Linked DNA regions of Homo sapiens: regions 2, 3, 4 and 5 are each linked to region 1. The links are contacts of gene promoters, found by promoter capture Hi-C in blood cells and fetal thymus (Javierre and others, 2016). All regions are on one chromosome and are shown on one strand. Each heading gives the region's core, a stretch centred on a gene start or on the middle of the fragment in contact. The rest is flanking DNA. Distances are from core to core; before and after follow the strand shown. Region 1 holds the start of LNPEP (leucyl and cystinyl aminopeptidase). Region 2 overlaps CHD1 (chromodomain helicase DNA binding protein 1). Region 3 holds the start of GPR150 (G protein-coupled receptor 150). Region 4 holds the start of RFESD (Rieske Fe-S domain containing). Region 5 has its middle 13 kb from the start of GLRX.

Region 1 (2,702 bases), core at 145-2,644:
CACCAGACTATTCTTTAAGTCTTAGTAATTACAAATAGAACCTGAATGAGAAAGAAAATTCAGAATTAAAGTTGTTATCAGTAAGCCTAATTAAACAGTGCAGACAGAAAGATGGCAGTAGAATAAAGCATTCTACATTAGGAATAGGGAGAATATAATCAGTAGTTCACAGCCCCATGAATGAAGCACAGCATACAACAAAGTCTGGCTGGGATTTGGGATAAAGTGGACAATATCTGTCTGCTCTTGAGTGGTAACTAACAAACTAAACAGGGATATAGACTGTGGCCCCTATTAATGTGATACTGTACCTGAAGTAACCAACCACACTCAGCAAAACATGTCAACCAGAGACTGAATCCTCTTTTAGTGAGTCGTCTCCCTTACTGGCAGTTTTCCTACTTTCTATCTTAAAAGGGAATCCACACACTCAACACCGCAAAACGGTAAGACATCTCACCCCTATATTGTGGCTCTGGCACTTCTGGTCCGCACAAAAGCCATGGTTCTAACTAGGGTGGGATTTATGCTCCCCGTTCAGTGAAGGGCTGTGGCTGTTTGCAGGGTGCAGGCTCCCTGCGTTGACTCTCGCTTCCTGTCACACAGTGGTATCACCACCGTGACGGACCCTTGACATTAACAAGTCTTTGACTGAAAAACTGATGTGATCTGCAGCCAGTGAGGGGATGCGTGGTGGCCCTGCCGAGTACCTCGGCAGGGTCAGGAGGGTGGCACTGTGGCCAGGCACCTCCGCGGCACCGAGCGAGGTGAGCAAGCCTTTCCTGAAGTTTCCCTTCCTTCCACAACATTAACCTGCCAAGCCTCCCACCCCCACCCCGCCCTATTAGGAAAAGTCACGCCGGCAGCTCACTGAAGGGCAGGGGGACAGCTCCTGGCGCCCCACAAAAGTTGGGCTCGGCAGCTGCCACAACTTAACGCTCCTACAGGAGAGTCGGGCCGACACCGCCTCCTCCGGGGGCAAACCTGAGCTGCCAACTTTCCCACTGCCCACTCCTCTGCGCACAGCAGCCCAAACTTTGCTGTTTGCCCACCGGCCGCACCCCGGGCGAGCGGCGGCGGCGCTGACCTTCAAGCCAGCCCCGGGTCCCGCACTGGCCGCCGCCCGCCCCCCGAACCTCCCTGCCTCCCCCAGATCCCCTCTCCCTGCCTCCCTCAGCCCTCGTGGGAAGCCCGCGGTGTTGGGGGAGACGGCTGCAGCCCGACCCCGCGTGTCACGACTGCCCACGACCCTCAGGGCTCCGGAGAGCCCGGGTCCCGGCGCCTCGGCAGCCCACTCACCATTGGTGAAGGGCTCCATTTTCCCCCCGCCGCGGCTCCTTACAGCCGGAGCGCCCGAGCTTCCTACTCCGAGAGCTGAGGCGGCCCAGCTGACTGAGCATGCCCAGCGCGGCCTCCAAGGGCTGCCAGGGAGGTGCCGCGAGGGGCGGCGCCGCTCCGCCGTTCCGGGTTTTCGTGGCAGCTGCAGAAAGAGCGAGGGAAGCAAGAGGGAAAAGCACAGTCAAACCCCCTGCTGCTCCGTGGACAGGCGAGGTGGGAGCGGGTTCGCGCTGGGGGCGGGGCCTAGGCGGGGCCGGGAAAGCCCAGCCCCTACCTGAAGTGGACCCGGCTGCGGCGCTCTCCCCGGCCGGGAACGGTGTTCAGTCACTCAACAAATGTGGAGCCCTACTGCGACCCGCCCGATCCCGGACGCCGAGACACCCGCACTGCGCCAGAAAATCATGGTCCCAGTCCCAGGAGCGGACATTCCAGAAACAGACCATAAATAAACACAGAAGACACACGAGTGTAAAGTCAGTGCCCCGCTGCGAATTAAATCGGGGTGATGTGATGGCGAGTGAGTGGGTAGTTAATTCGGATGGCTTGGTTAGACGAGGCCTCGCTGAGCAGGTGCCACTGAAGCCGAAGTCTGAAGGCAGAGCAGGAACCTGCGGGCGAAGGTCGCTATCTGAACCGCGAATCGCTGGTTTCCCTGGGGAGGTTGGCCGCGGAGGGATCACTGCTCGAAGGACCGAGGGAGCGGGCGCTGTAGGTGTTTTCGGCAGAGATGCCCGCCCGCATCAGAGTGCCTCAGGAGGGCGGTGAGGAGGAGACGGAAGAGAGGGCGGGGACCTCGCAGGGCCGAGGGCGCCCTGGGGTCCAGTCCCGGGGCTGGCGGCTGCCTTGCGGCCTCTAGGTGCGGGCGGATAACAAAACCCGGCGCCGGATCGCCCGGCCCGGGTCGCGGGCGCCGCAGGATGTGGGCAGAAGGCCCGCCTGTTCCGAGCCTTAAATCAACACCTGCGGTTCCCGGGGGTGCTACCACTGGGGCCCGCAGCAAGGCTCCGCGGCGCTAGGCCCGAGAAACCGAAACTCCCCTAGTCGCCCCTGCCCCCCAGCACTCGCGCCATTGCCTCCAGCCCCGAGCCACCATTGTTTCCAGTGCCAAATCGGGCAGCCCCGCTAGCCTCCGAGGCCGAACCGCCAGGGGCCCCATAAGCCCCGAGGAGGCTCGTCGGGAACCGCTTCCTTATCCTCTCGGTATGCGCATCGCCACCACCCTCGCTGCAGAGGCCGCCGCCCTCCCAGCGCGCCATCACCGCCTCCTCTGCCTCTTCCCCTCCCTCAGCCCCGGCCCCTGCATTGACTTGGCTCGGGCTGCGCCTCACTGCGCCTGCCAACTGTCACACGCTCTGAGGCTTTCA
Region 2 (2,702 bases), core at 112-2,611, 2.0 Mb before region 1:
GTTAGCTTTCTACTGAAAAAAAAAATTTTTAACTATTCTTTCTGTCTGGAGATCTCTCTATAACTATTCACTGAAAGGAAGAAGAATACACAGGAAAAATATGTCTCTTTTGCTATGCTATTGCTGACAGTCTTGAAATTTAGTTACTAAGAAATGTGGGCCAGGATGCACCTGTATAACAGTTACAGCTCAACACAAAGTTTTATGTAACTGAAGTTAAGCTTTTTAAAGATAATGCTGGAAGATTTCAAAGCATCAATTTGCAGCTGTGTGGATTTGTGGTGGTATTTGCAAGCAAATTTTTCAAATCCTGGTAGACTTTTTTTTAGTGTGTGTGTGGTTTGTTTTTTTTTAATTGAGATGGAGTCTCACTGTTGCCCAGGCTGGAGTGCAGTAGCACGATCTTGGCTCACTGCAGCCTCCGTCTCCTGTGTTCTGGCAGTTTTCTGCCTCTGCCTCCTGAGTAGCTGGGATTATAGGTGCCCGCCACCATGCCCCGCTAATTTTTGTATTTTTAGTAAAGATGGGATTTCACCATGTTGGCCAGGCTGGTGGTCTTGAACTCCTGACCTTGTGATCCACCCACCTCGGCCTCCCAAAGTGCTGGGATTACAGGCATGAGCCACTGCGCCTGGCTGACTTTTTTTAGTTTTAAATAAGTTATCTTGAGTGATGATTTACTTCAGGAATGGCTATATGGTTAAAGATCAGAATGGTGTATGAGTTACCTTTCAAAGATTACTTTTCTGTATGTAGTCATAATGTGTGGGCAAACATTAATGTGATGTTACCCCTTTTACTCTGCTTAAGTAGCTGCTTGTTTAAGATCTTGATGACTGATTGGTTATATATGGTGCAGTTTTGTGTTTTAAAATGAGTATTACTTTATGATGAATGGAGAAAATGTTTAACCTTTTTTTAAAATGGGAAATATTTAAAACTACAGAAATAGAAAAGTTGCACCAGTTGTGGTCCGTGGACCAGCGGTGTTGGCATCATTTGGGAGCTTATTATAACTGTAGAACCTTGTGCCTCGCCCCAGACGTACTGAATCAGAATCTTCATTTTAACAAGATTCTAAGTGATTCTTATGTATTAAGTTCATATACATTTATATGAAGCTATTCATCTGGAGTCATAGCATCTTGCCACTTTGTTATTGATGTTGTTATACATGGTTTTCATTCTCTGCGAACCTCCAATTAATTGTGTCTTGAGCAGGACTAGCAAGAGGCTAGGTAAGTTTCGTTTCTCCGGAAGCAGTAACAATGGCAACTGATGATTGTTGAGCTCTTGCTGTGCCTTAACCTAGCATGATGCACATAGGGCATTGTGCATTACTTGAATTGTCACAGTTCATCCTCACAAAACTTCTGTGATGTATACATTGTTATGATTCCCACTTTCCAGATGGGGAAACAAGATTTATAGCCATTTTATTTATTTTTTTATTCTTTTTTAAAAAACTATTACCTAAACTCTATACTTGGATTTCATTGATTTTTCCATTAACTCCCTCTTTTCTGTTGTAGGATTAAATCCAGAGTGCCACATTGCATTTAGTTGTCACGTCTCCCCAGTCTCCTTTCATCTGTGAGAGTTTCTAAGTCTTTCCTTAGTTTTCATGGTCTAAACCATCTTGAGAAATACTGGCCAGGTATCCTGTAGAATGTTTTTGAAATCTAGATTTGTCTTTTTTTTTTTTTTTTTGAGACGGCGTCTTGCTCTGTTGCCCAGGCTGGAGTGCAATGGCACGATCTCACCTCACTGCAACCTCCGCCTCCTGGGTTCAAACGATTCTCCTGCCACAGCCTCCCGAGTGACTGGGACTACAGGTGTGCACCACCATGCCTGGCTAATTTTTGTATTTTTAGTAGAGACAGGGTTTCTCTGTGTTGGTCAGGCTGATCTTGAACTCTTGACCTCAGGTAATCCACCCACCTTGGCCTCCCAGAGTGTTGGGATTACAGGTGTGTGAGCCACCACACCTGGCCTTGTCTATTGTTCTTAGGATAAACTAGGGTTATTGGTTTTTAGAAAGAATACCACAAAGATAAAGTGTGCTAGTCACATCATATGGGAAACATGTTATCCTCATGACATTACTGGTGGTGTTAACCTCTCACTTGGTCAAGGTAGTATTTGCAAGTTTCTCTACTGTAAAGTTACTGTTTTTCCCTTTCCATAATATATTCTTTGGAAGCAAGTCATTTTGTCTAGCCTACTTTCAAGAGGGTTGGGATAGGAATTAAATTCCATCTCCTGGTGGGGGGAGTATTTACATATATTAAATGGAATTTCTGTAAGGAAATTTCTAAATCGTTTATATATGTATGGATTTATGTATGTGCTTTGAGTTGTAATCCAGCTTAGTGGATTACAACTCTATAAAATATATATTTGTATATATTTATGTATAATAGGTATTTTATGTATCTATTGTATAATAGTTGACTTTTTTGTTACTTAAATTGATCTAGCCTTGGCTCTTGGAAGCTTTTTTAGGTTGGCTCGTATGTTTCTTTTACACACTGCCTTACTTTTACCCTAGAATCAGCCACTCTCCAAGGAGCCTTGGTTCCATTTTTTTGGAGAATGGCATTAGAAACCAAGATTTGGGTACTGGGTGTGCTTGTTGATATTCAAGTGTCACTGCTTTTATTTCCTCTCAGTGAACAAAGTAGACAGAGCTAGGTAATATA
Region 3 (2,702 bases), core at 143-2,642, 1.3 Mb after region 1:
AGGGTGGGGCCAGCGTTGGCGGTAGAGCGCCTGGTGGCCCCGGGGCCCCTCCTCGTCCTCCGCGCCTCCCTGCGGCGCGCAGCACAGAGAGCCCAGCCGCTTCCGCAGCTGTCGCCGGAGCCGGCAGTCGCCCGCCTGGAAGAAGAGGTAGACGAAGGGATTGAGAGCGCTGTTGGCCATCGCCACCACGCGCAGCGCCGCCGACAGGCCCTCTCCCTCCCAGTCTCCCGCGGGCCCGGACGACCACGCGGCCGCCAGCCGGGCGGCAAAGTAGGGCAGCTCGCAGCCCACGAACAGCAGCGCCAGCAGCAGGCTCATCTTCAGGCTCTGCACCTTGGCGCGGGGCAGCGCGCTGGGCGCAGGGGCTCGACCTGGGCTCGCCGACCAGGGCGCTGCAGCCGCGGGGGCCTGCGGCCGGTGCCGCCACCAGACGGAGAGTAGGTGGCCGCAAGCGACGCCCAGGACCGTAACAGGCGCGACGAAGCCCGCGACGGCCTCGTAGAACGCGTAGACCTGCAGGTGCCAGCGCGGCAGGGGCGCGAAGATCCCGTGGCAGCGACGCTCCCCCGGCCAGGCGCGGGCGGCCGGGGGCGCGCCTGGCTGCAGGGACGTTGGCGGCGGCGGCGGCGGCAGCGGCGAGGGGGAGTCCCCGCGCACCACGAAGGCCGGGGGCAGCGCCAGCAGCAGTGCCAGCAGCCAGCCCAGGGCGGCGAGGGCACGCGCGGGCAGCGGCCGGCCGTGCGGAAGACGCACCGCGCGCCGGCGCTCGAGGGCGATGAGCACCACGAGGTGGGCCGAGGCGCCCCGCCCGGATGCCTGCAGCAGCTGCAGGAAGCGGCACGCCAGGTCCCCCGTGGCCGCGCGGGGCTCGCCCAGCAGTTCCCAGGCCAGCTGTGACAGCGCCGTGCCCCCGCACGCGTACAGGTCCGCCAGGGCCAGCTGCACCAGCAGGAAGTCCATCTTGCGACGCTTGGGGCCCGCCCAGGGCCCGCCGCCGCCGCACAGGCGGCACAGCACTGTGGTGTTGCCTGCCACCGCCACCACCAGGATGACCCCCAGGAACACCAGGCGGACGCGGCGGCTGGGCGGCCCAGAGGCAGGGGCTCCTTGCCCCAAGGTCAGGTTGAGACCCCAGCCCAGCAAGATGGGCACGGAAATGTTGGGCGCCGGCGGCAGAATTGAGGGGCTAAAGAGATCCTCCATCCTTGTCCCGGAGGAAGAGGAGGCACCGAAGAGGGCGGGCAGGACGCGGGAAACCAAAGTGGAGGCGAGGCGGCGCGGGGAGCGACGCTGGGTCTATACGAGTTCCCAAAGTTAGTTGAAAAGGCACACGCACAGAGAGGGAGATGGATTCGGGCGGCTTTGCGCTTAGTTGTTTTTGTCGATTGTCCTCGTGATTTGTCACTCAAATGTGGGTTGTACACTCGAGGAACACACATGATTCCTATTCTCCACCTTCCCCGCGTCTTCCCTCCCATTCCCGGCGGGTACTCTTCCAATCTCTGCAGCGGCCCCCGACGCTACCCTCGCGGAAGCCGCGGACCCCTGGGCGCTGAGAACCTCATCCATTCTCTATTTACGTGTAAAGCACAGCAGGACAGAATGTCGCTTTGCTTGGCCATTGTATACGGCCAGTGTTATGCCAGCACCCACACAAGAGAGGACCTCTTGACTGAGATTGTACCACACGCCCCCACCACCCCAATGTGATTGCCAGTAGGAAAAAAATAGAAAAGACATTAGTTTTTATTTTAAAGGTTTGAAATGCCATGGATCTGCACGAGCATGAGAAAAACAGGAACACAAGAAACCTAACAGCGTTTTGAGCAAAGAGGAGACCTATTAGCTGAATTTTGATCAAGATGTGTCTTCTCTGTCCAAGAATGAAAGTATTTTAATTAGAGGGTACTAAAGTCAATGATGTTGCTTTTAGGAGTGGCAGTGTTGCAGATCGTTCCAAATACTAGGAGCAGTGGGTCACAGCTGCTTTCTTGGTGATGTAAAATTCATTTCATTAGTCTGAAGAGGGCATTAATAGGTTTTATGCAAATGGTAGTGCATTTATTGCTTTTCTCCTAATATTTTCATCCAGTGAAGGATGCGTCATCACACTCCTCATTCTCTTGATTCTGTTTTCCAGCAGATGGGAAGTTGCTAGGAGGGGCTACGCCTCCAATAAGCCTAGAGAAAAGGTGACTAAGAAAGTGATAAGGCGGCCAATTTTTTTAAAAAAGAAATCCAAGTCACAGGAAATGGTTTAGATTAAATGTTGCTGCTTTCATTTTAGCCTTGTCTCCTCACAAACACATTTTAGTTTCCCTGTTGGAAGCATCCATTTGTCTTTTTATGCACCCTCCACGTTAATCATGGTGAAAGTAGAATTTCCTGTACTTCCTGGCCTGGGGGCCAGGGAGGTATGAGTGTTGTCTAGGGTTCACATTCCCAATCTGAGGAAACATTTGGAACTTTAAGATTCATGGCCTAGGAAGATTTGGTGGGTTCCATGATAGTCCTGCCAGCTGCTGTAGGAATCCCATTTCCCAAGCTGTTGTCCTTTGGCCAGAAACCTTGGTTATTTTCATCATCATCTCTGTGGTGCCTCGCTCTGGTCTGACAGGTTGTAGTTATCAGTGGGTATGTGTTGAGTTGATGAATTAGTGGATATACGATGCTTTTCAGATACCTTCGAGCATAAATGCCTG
Region 4 (2,702 bases), core at 67-2,566, 1.3 Mb after region 1:
GAAGTGAAACGTACTTACTTGTCACTCGTCTTGAACCATGACTAAGATGCTTTTACCAAGTGTGGAAACTTTGCCTACACATTATCAGAATGCTTATCTCAAGTATGACACCCTTGCTTTTACATGCAGGGAAGAGAAATGCCTTAGAGAGTAGTTTTGGTATCTCTCTGAATGGCAGAATAATAACAGATAAAACTAGCTGTCCTTTAGTAAATGCCTACTGCTTGGACCCTTTGAATATAATAGTTCATTAGTCTTCACAAAACCGCCAACGGGTAGGCATTAGTTTTATTCAGGTAGCACCCACGTTTTTATAAAAACATGAGGCTTGCAAGTAAACTATCCTGAAGACACAGAAACCTTTTAGCAAAGCAAATATGTATATTGGTGATATATATAGTATTGATATTTATATTTGTCACCAAAGATGGTCCTGAATTAAAAAAAAAAAGGAACGCTAATGTGCAACAGCTATGTTCACGAATGTTTACAATTGAACGCTTGCCCAATAATTTTATATAAAGTCACAGAGCTGCTCTGGAAATCAGCACCATCGTATGATGTTGAATTGTGATCACGAGTGAGCTAGACCTGGGTTTGCATCCCAGTTCTGCGTGATTTGGGGCAAGTTGCTTAACTTCGCTGTGCTGCAGTTTCTTTTACTTTAAGAAGGGCCCGCCACATAGGGGTGTGGGTAAAGCACATAAATGCTTTAACACATGTCAAATGTTTAGAGCAGGCCTAACCGCAGAAAACGCTCACAGCGCGTTAGCTGGCACCTCTAAGGTCCATCCAGCTCTGGCAGTTATCCTGCCTAACTTCAAGTTGTGTTTAACATTTCGGTAAAGACCGCCTGCAGTTCTGAGACTGCACGTGGCTGTCCAGGTGCTGCAAATTCTCGACACAGACTCCAGGAGGCGAGTATCTCCAGGACGGCCGGGGCTGCGGAAGCCCTGGAGCAGCTTCTATACTTTAGAGCTTTCATGGCACAAATGCCATGAAAGCTTGTTAAAAACGACCCGCGTACCCCCCTTAGGTGGCAGGTCTCAGGTGTGGCCCAAGTTTCAAGGTGAACAAGCTCGGTGAGTCTCCTGTGCCTGGGCGGAAGCCCGCCTTGGCGGGTTAACCGTTAACTAACGCTGAACCAAAACCCAAGAGGGCCTCAGGCCCCGCAGCGGCGCGGCCACAGCCGGAATGAGGAGTCCACGCCCGCAGCCCAGCCGGAAGCAGCTGGTCCCGCCAGCCCGCCCCCTGCGCGGCGAGAACAGAACTTACTGTCCCCGAGTCCTCGCTCCGCCTCCGCGTGACGCTACTGCACGAGCCAGAGCTCCAGACGTGCGCGGCGCCTCGACGGGGGCGGGGCGAGGCCGTCCACGTGACCCAAGAAGGCCCGCCCCCGGGACCGCCTCTATGGCATTGCCGGCAGATGACCCTGGTTGATAGAGATCTCTGGCCAACAGCGCCGCGCCAGCACCTTCAAACTGGCAGGCATACTCGTGTACTTGACAAATGTGGATAGCATCAGTTTACTTTTTAGTTGTTTGTTGATCTCATTACATTTATTCAAATTTTAGATGCGCCCAGCGACTTCATTCAGTTATTTACCCTATAAAAATATTTGCAGAAGGTCGTCGCGATGCTGGTAACCCATGTATAAGGATGTTAAGGCCGGGCGCGGTGGTTCACGCCTGTAATCCCAGTACTTTGGGAGGCCGAGGCGGGCGAATCACCTGAGGTCGGGAGTTTGAGACCAGCCTGACCAACATGGAGAAACCCCATCTCTACTAAAAATACAAAATTAGCCGGGCGTGGTGGCCCAGGCCTGTAATCGCAGGTACTCAGGAGGCTGAGGCAGGAGAATCGCTTTGAATCCAGGAGGCAGAGGTTGCGGTGAGCCGAGATCGCGCCGTTGCACTCCAGCCTGGACAACACGAGCGAAACTCCATCTCAAAAAAAAAAAAAATGTTTATTGCTGTGAAGTAGTGAAAATAGCTGAAGTGATAACACGGAGGAATGGTTCAATAAAACACAGCACAACAGTACAGACATGTGAATTACTTCGTAGCTGTGTACTGTATACTCAAAGGACAGGCCCATCATGTAATGAATATTAAAGGCAAAGCGTAGAATACTATATATGGTGTCCTCTCTTTAATGTAAACAATTATTTTTTGAAATACAAACATGCAGGTATGTACATAAACTTTTTCTCGAAAAATCAAAAGAAACAATAGTGGTTGCTTTGGGAGGAGATGGAGAGTTTTCACTTTCATATTATGAACTTTGCAATTTTGCTTTTTTCTCATTGTACTTCCCTGAATTGACAACAACAACAACAAAGAAAACCACCAAAACCCTCATATTTGTGTTCCGAGCTGGGAAACTAGATGAGCCTAAGTTTTTAATTTCCTTGACTACTTTCCAGTGCAGTGATTCTTAACCCTGGCTATGCCTTAGAGTCGCTTGGGAGTTTTGAAAAGTCGTAATGCCCAGTCTGTATGCCAGACCAACAAAATAAAACACAGATTATTTGGGGTGGGAAGGGAGTGGGCAGATTCAATGTATGTTTTTAACTTCCTGAGTGATTCCAGTGTGAACCCAAGGTTGAACACTACAACTTGTATTTAGTATGGTGACATAGTGATCTCAGGCTCTAGGGTGGCCCAATGAACTGGGGCAGCCGAAACCCAGGAACTTTGTCC
Region 5 (2,702 bases), core at 99-2,598, 1.1 Mb after region 1:
GAGATCTATATCAAAAGAAGGGGAGAATGGCTATAGAAAGAAAGTTAGCAAACTGCAGCTTTCTCTTTTTTATTGTTTTTCCTCTGAGCCCCAATTTTCTTTCTCTGTTTTACATTTGAAAGCCTTCCTCAAATGTCTGGAGATCTGACTATCTGTAAATATTTAAAGAATGAGGCACTAAAAAAACTGACTGGAAGACTTGTGTGCATAGATTAGGCTTGCCAACGGATAGCTTCACCATCGAGAGCGTCTTTGTTCAAATGTCACCTTCTCAGCAAGGGATCCCCCATCCCCCTATCTAACACTCTCCCTTTCACTTTCACTTAGCATTCCCTATCCCTCTTTTTCAATTTATTTATTTTTTTCTATAGCATTTATCTTTTTTTTGAGATGGGGTCTTACTCTGTCATCCAGGCTGGAGTGCAGTGGCACAATCTCAGCTCACTGCAACCTCTGCCTCCTGGGCTCAAGCAATCCTCCCACGTTCAAGCGATTCTCCCACCTCAGCCTCCTGAGTAGCTGGGACCACAGATGCACACCTCCATGGAGGCTCACCTAATTTTTTGTATTTTTGGTAGAGACAGGGTTTCATCTTGTTGCCCAGGCTGATCAACACTCCTGAGCTCAAGTGATCCACCTGCTTTGGCCTCCCAAAGTGCTGAGATTAGAGGCGTGAGCCACCACACCCAGTCTATCTTTTAATATATGGTATGATTTATTTAGTTTACTGTCTCTTCACTATTAGAATATAAGTGCCTTGAGGTCAGGGATTGGTGTCTATTTACCGCTGTATCTGCAGCATCAAGACTGCTTGGCAGATAGTAGGCTCTTTCTTGAGTGAACAAATTAAAGAATAAATGAACAGGTACAGATCTGGTTGCCTCACTGGGAGATCCCCCAATTATTGGTTCCTGGACACCTTTTCTTTTGAGCCATTCAGTCTCTCCAGCTTCACAGCTGGGGGTTGGGCCTCATCCTCAGGGTTCTGGCTGCCAAGCAGGGAAAAGGGACTTGGCAGCTTCCTGGCCAGTGTGTAGACTCTCATGTAACCTCCTGTTTTCTGCCCTGCTCCTTGCTGAGTAATTCCGTGTGATCTGCAAGGATAGAAAGAATGATCTTTCAAAGAACATGGAGAGAGATTGGCAATAGGGGCTGGCAGAAAAAAACAGCAAAAATTAACCACCAAAAAATTCACAGCCAAAGCTCTACTCTTTCTGTTTACTGAAGAAAGCAAGTGATCCAATCTCCTGCGAATGTTGTTGATTTTAATAACCACCTTCTCTGCTTCCTCCAACCTGGCCCTTTGGGCTAGACTCCAGACAGCCATTTCTTCCAATTCAAGGCTGTCCAAAGATGCCCCTTAAGGAGAAAGAACTGGTAAATTCTTAAACTGATGGTAAATTCCTAAACTGGTGGTAAATGGATCTATGTGGCCCAGACCACACTATTTATATCCCCAGTGAGTATTATTAGGTCGTTATCTTGACATTTGGTTGCCAGAGAAAGCCATGCTCCCTAATTTACTACACCATAATAATTGTTCACAGGTCGTGGGAAATATTGTAAAGAACTGGGATCCTGAGATATTTTACTTAGAGTTCCTTTCTTATATTAATAGGGGTCTTCTTACCAAATACACCGAATGTTTGAAGGGGAAGAATTTAATCCTGCTCATTAGGGGAAGAGAATTCTGGCCTGGTCCCTTTAAGCACAAGGGATATTTAAAAATGGGTCTATATTTATGCACAAGTTTATACTTCCTGTCTCCAGGCGACTTTTCTGGTGAGCTGTGCAGAGCTGAAGGTAGGAGAGAGAGGGGAACTAGGAGAGCCAATGACGGCACAGAACATCGTGCAAGCTGGGGCTCTGGGGTTTTTTACGGACTCTTCCAGCGCACTCAACTCCTCCCTCCTAGTTGGCGGGGCTCAAGCCTCTGGGGACCTGCAGCTGAGCTTTCTCAGAAGCAAGAAGAGATGCCTCCTTCCTATTCTCTTGTGTGCCTTGTGAAACTTAAAACATTTCATATGTAAAATTACAAGCTGTTTATGGGGTGGAGATTTTGCGCTTCCTCCCATTATTAAGTCATCCTTGAGAACTGAGTGTGGATGATCTTTAACACAGTCTGCCCAGGGTTCTAGCCAGATGTGTTAAATGGGGACCAAAGGACCCACTCTGGGAATGGAGGACCAGCAACTCCTGGGAAGACAGAATTAAAGAGCACGGCTGGAACCTGTGGCCACGGGGGCTGTCCCCCGACATCTAGAATGCGACCCTTGTGTAGAGCTGACTCTGGGTGCCTTCATCCAGCCCCCTGCATAGAAGATCTCCTTTAGCCTCATCAAATCAGTCACTGTGTGATTAAAAAGTTCAGGGGGTGGCAGGGACAGCTGCCCCCAGAAAGGGAACAGTGTGGGCATCTCCAGACAGGTAAACCACAGGAAAACCAAGGAGCCCTAGTTCTCCTCTCCATCCAGGAAGCCTTTAGCTGGCAGCACAAGGGAGGGGCGGCCACACCTTAGGTTATTTTTGAGTCCGTTTCCCCACCCCTGTGTGAAGGTGTGGCCCAGTGGCAGATAGACTGTCCTTAATCTAACCAGAGGAATCCTCCTCCTCCAAGTGAGAAAAGGAGCAAAGGATGCAAAGCGCCCCTTCAACACTCCTTGAGCTGGAAGGAGAAGAAAAATCTCTCCTCCTTTACAGGA

Evidence for each region. Contacts are between HindIII fragments. The CHiCAGO score rates a contact against its expected background, and 5 or more counts as called.
Region 2: a fragment that was not itself captured here is called in contact with the fragment with the promoter of LNPEP in region 1 in 1 of 17 cell types (fetal thymus); the score reaches 12.8 in fetal thymus.
Region 3: the fragment with the promoter of GPR150 here is called in contact with the fragment with the promoter of LNPEP in region 1 in 1 of 17 cell types (fetal thymus); the score reaches 5.1 in fetal thymus.
Region 4: a contact is called between the fragment with the promoter of RFESD here and the fragment with the promoter of LNPEP in region 1, in 1 of 17 cell types (fetal thymus). The highest score is 6.6, in fetal thymus.
Region 5: a contact is called between a fragment that was not itself captured here and the fragment with the promoter of LNPEP in region 1, in 1 of 17 cell types (naive CD8 T cells). The highest score is 6.4, in naive CD8 T cells.

The regions. Positions count from the first base shown.
Region 1 is chr5:96,934,772-96,937,473 of GRCh38, reverse strand. It overlaps LNPEP (leucyl and cystinyl aminopeptidase), which reads right to left and starts at 1,394. Exons shown (of 18, transcript NM_005575.3): 1 at 1,300-1,394. The coding sequence starts at 1,318. It overlaps LOC124901030, which reads left to right and starts at 1,399. Exons shown (of 1, transcript XM_047417984.1): 1 at 1,399-2,702. The coding sequence starts at 1,399. The coding sequence ends at 2,103. It also overlaps a transcript of ERAP1 not described here. RefSeq lists silencers at 861-940, 1,071-1,140, 2,081-2,150, 2,591-2,702 and enhancers at 1,731-2,040, 2,341-2,480. The HindIII fragment of the contact is 7,112 bases long and covers 1-2,702 here.
Region 2 is chr5:98,919,805-98,922,506 of GRCh38, reverse strand. All of the region lies in intron 2 of CHD1 (chromodomain helicase DNA binding protein 1), which reads left to right. Among named protein-coding and RNA genes, the nearest start is that of CHD1-DT, 7.4 kb to the left of the region's middle. The HindIII fragment of the contact is 2,275 bases long and covers 224-2,498 here.
Region 3 is chr5:95,618,777-95,621,478 of GRCh38, reverse strand. It overlaps GPR150 (G protein-coupled receptor 150), which reads right to left and starts at 1,392. Exons shown (of 1, transcript NM_199243.3): 1 at 1-1,392. The coding sequence starts at 1,203. RefSeq lists enhancers at 1-24, 1,221-1,836 and silencers at 42-491, 200-494, 512-561, 652-1,051. The HindIII fragment of the contact is 5,492 bases long and covers 1-2,702 here.
Region 4 is chr5:95,645,391-95,648,092 of GRCh38, reverse strand. It overlaps RFESD (Rieske Fe-S domain containing), which reads right to left and starts at 1,316. Exons shown (of 6, transcript NM_001131066.2): 1 at 1,276-1,316. The HindIII fragment of the contact is 4,150 bases long and covers 1,007-2,702 here.
Region 5 is chr5:95,808,064-95,810,765 of GRCh38, reverse strand. No RefSeq gene overlaps it. Among named protein-coding and RNA genes, the nearest start is that of GLRX, 13 kb to the left of the region's middle. RefSeq lists enhancers at 1,490-1,569, 1,990-2,079, 2,330-2,379. The HindIII fragment of the contact is 3,103 bases long and covers 1-2,702 here.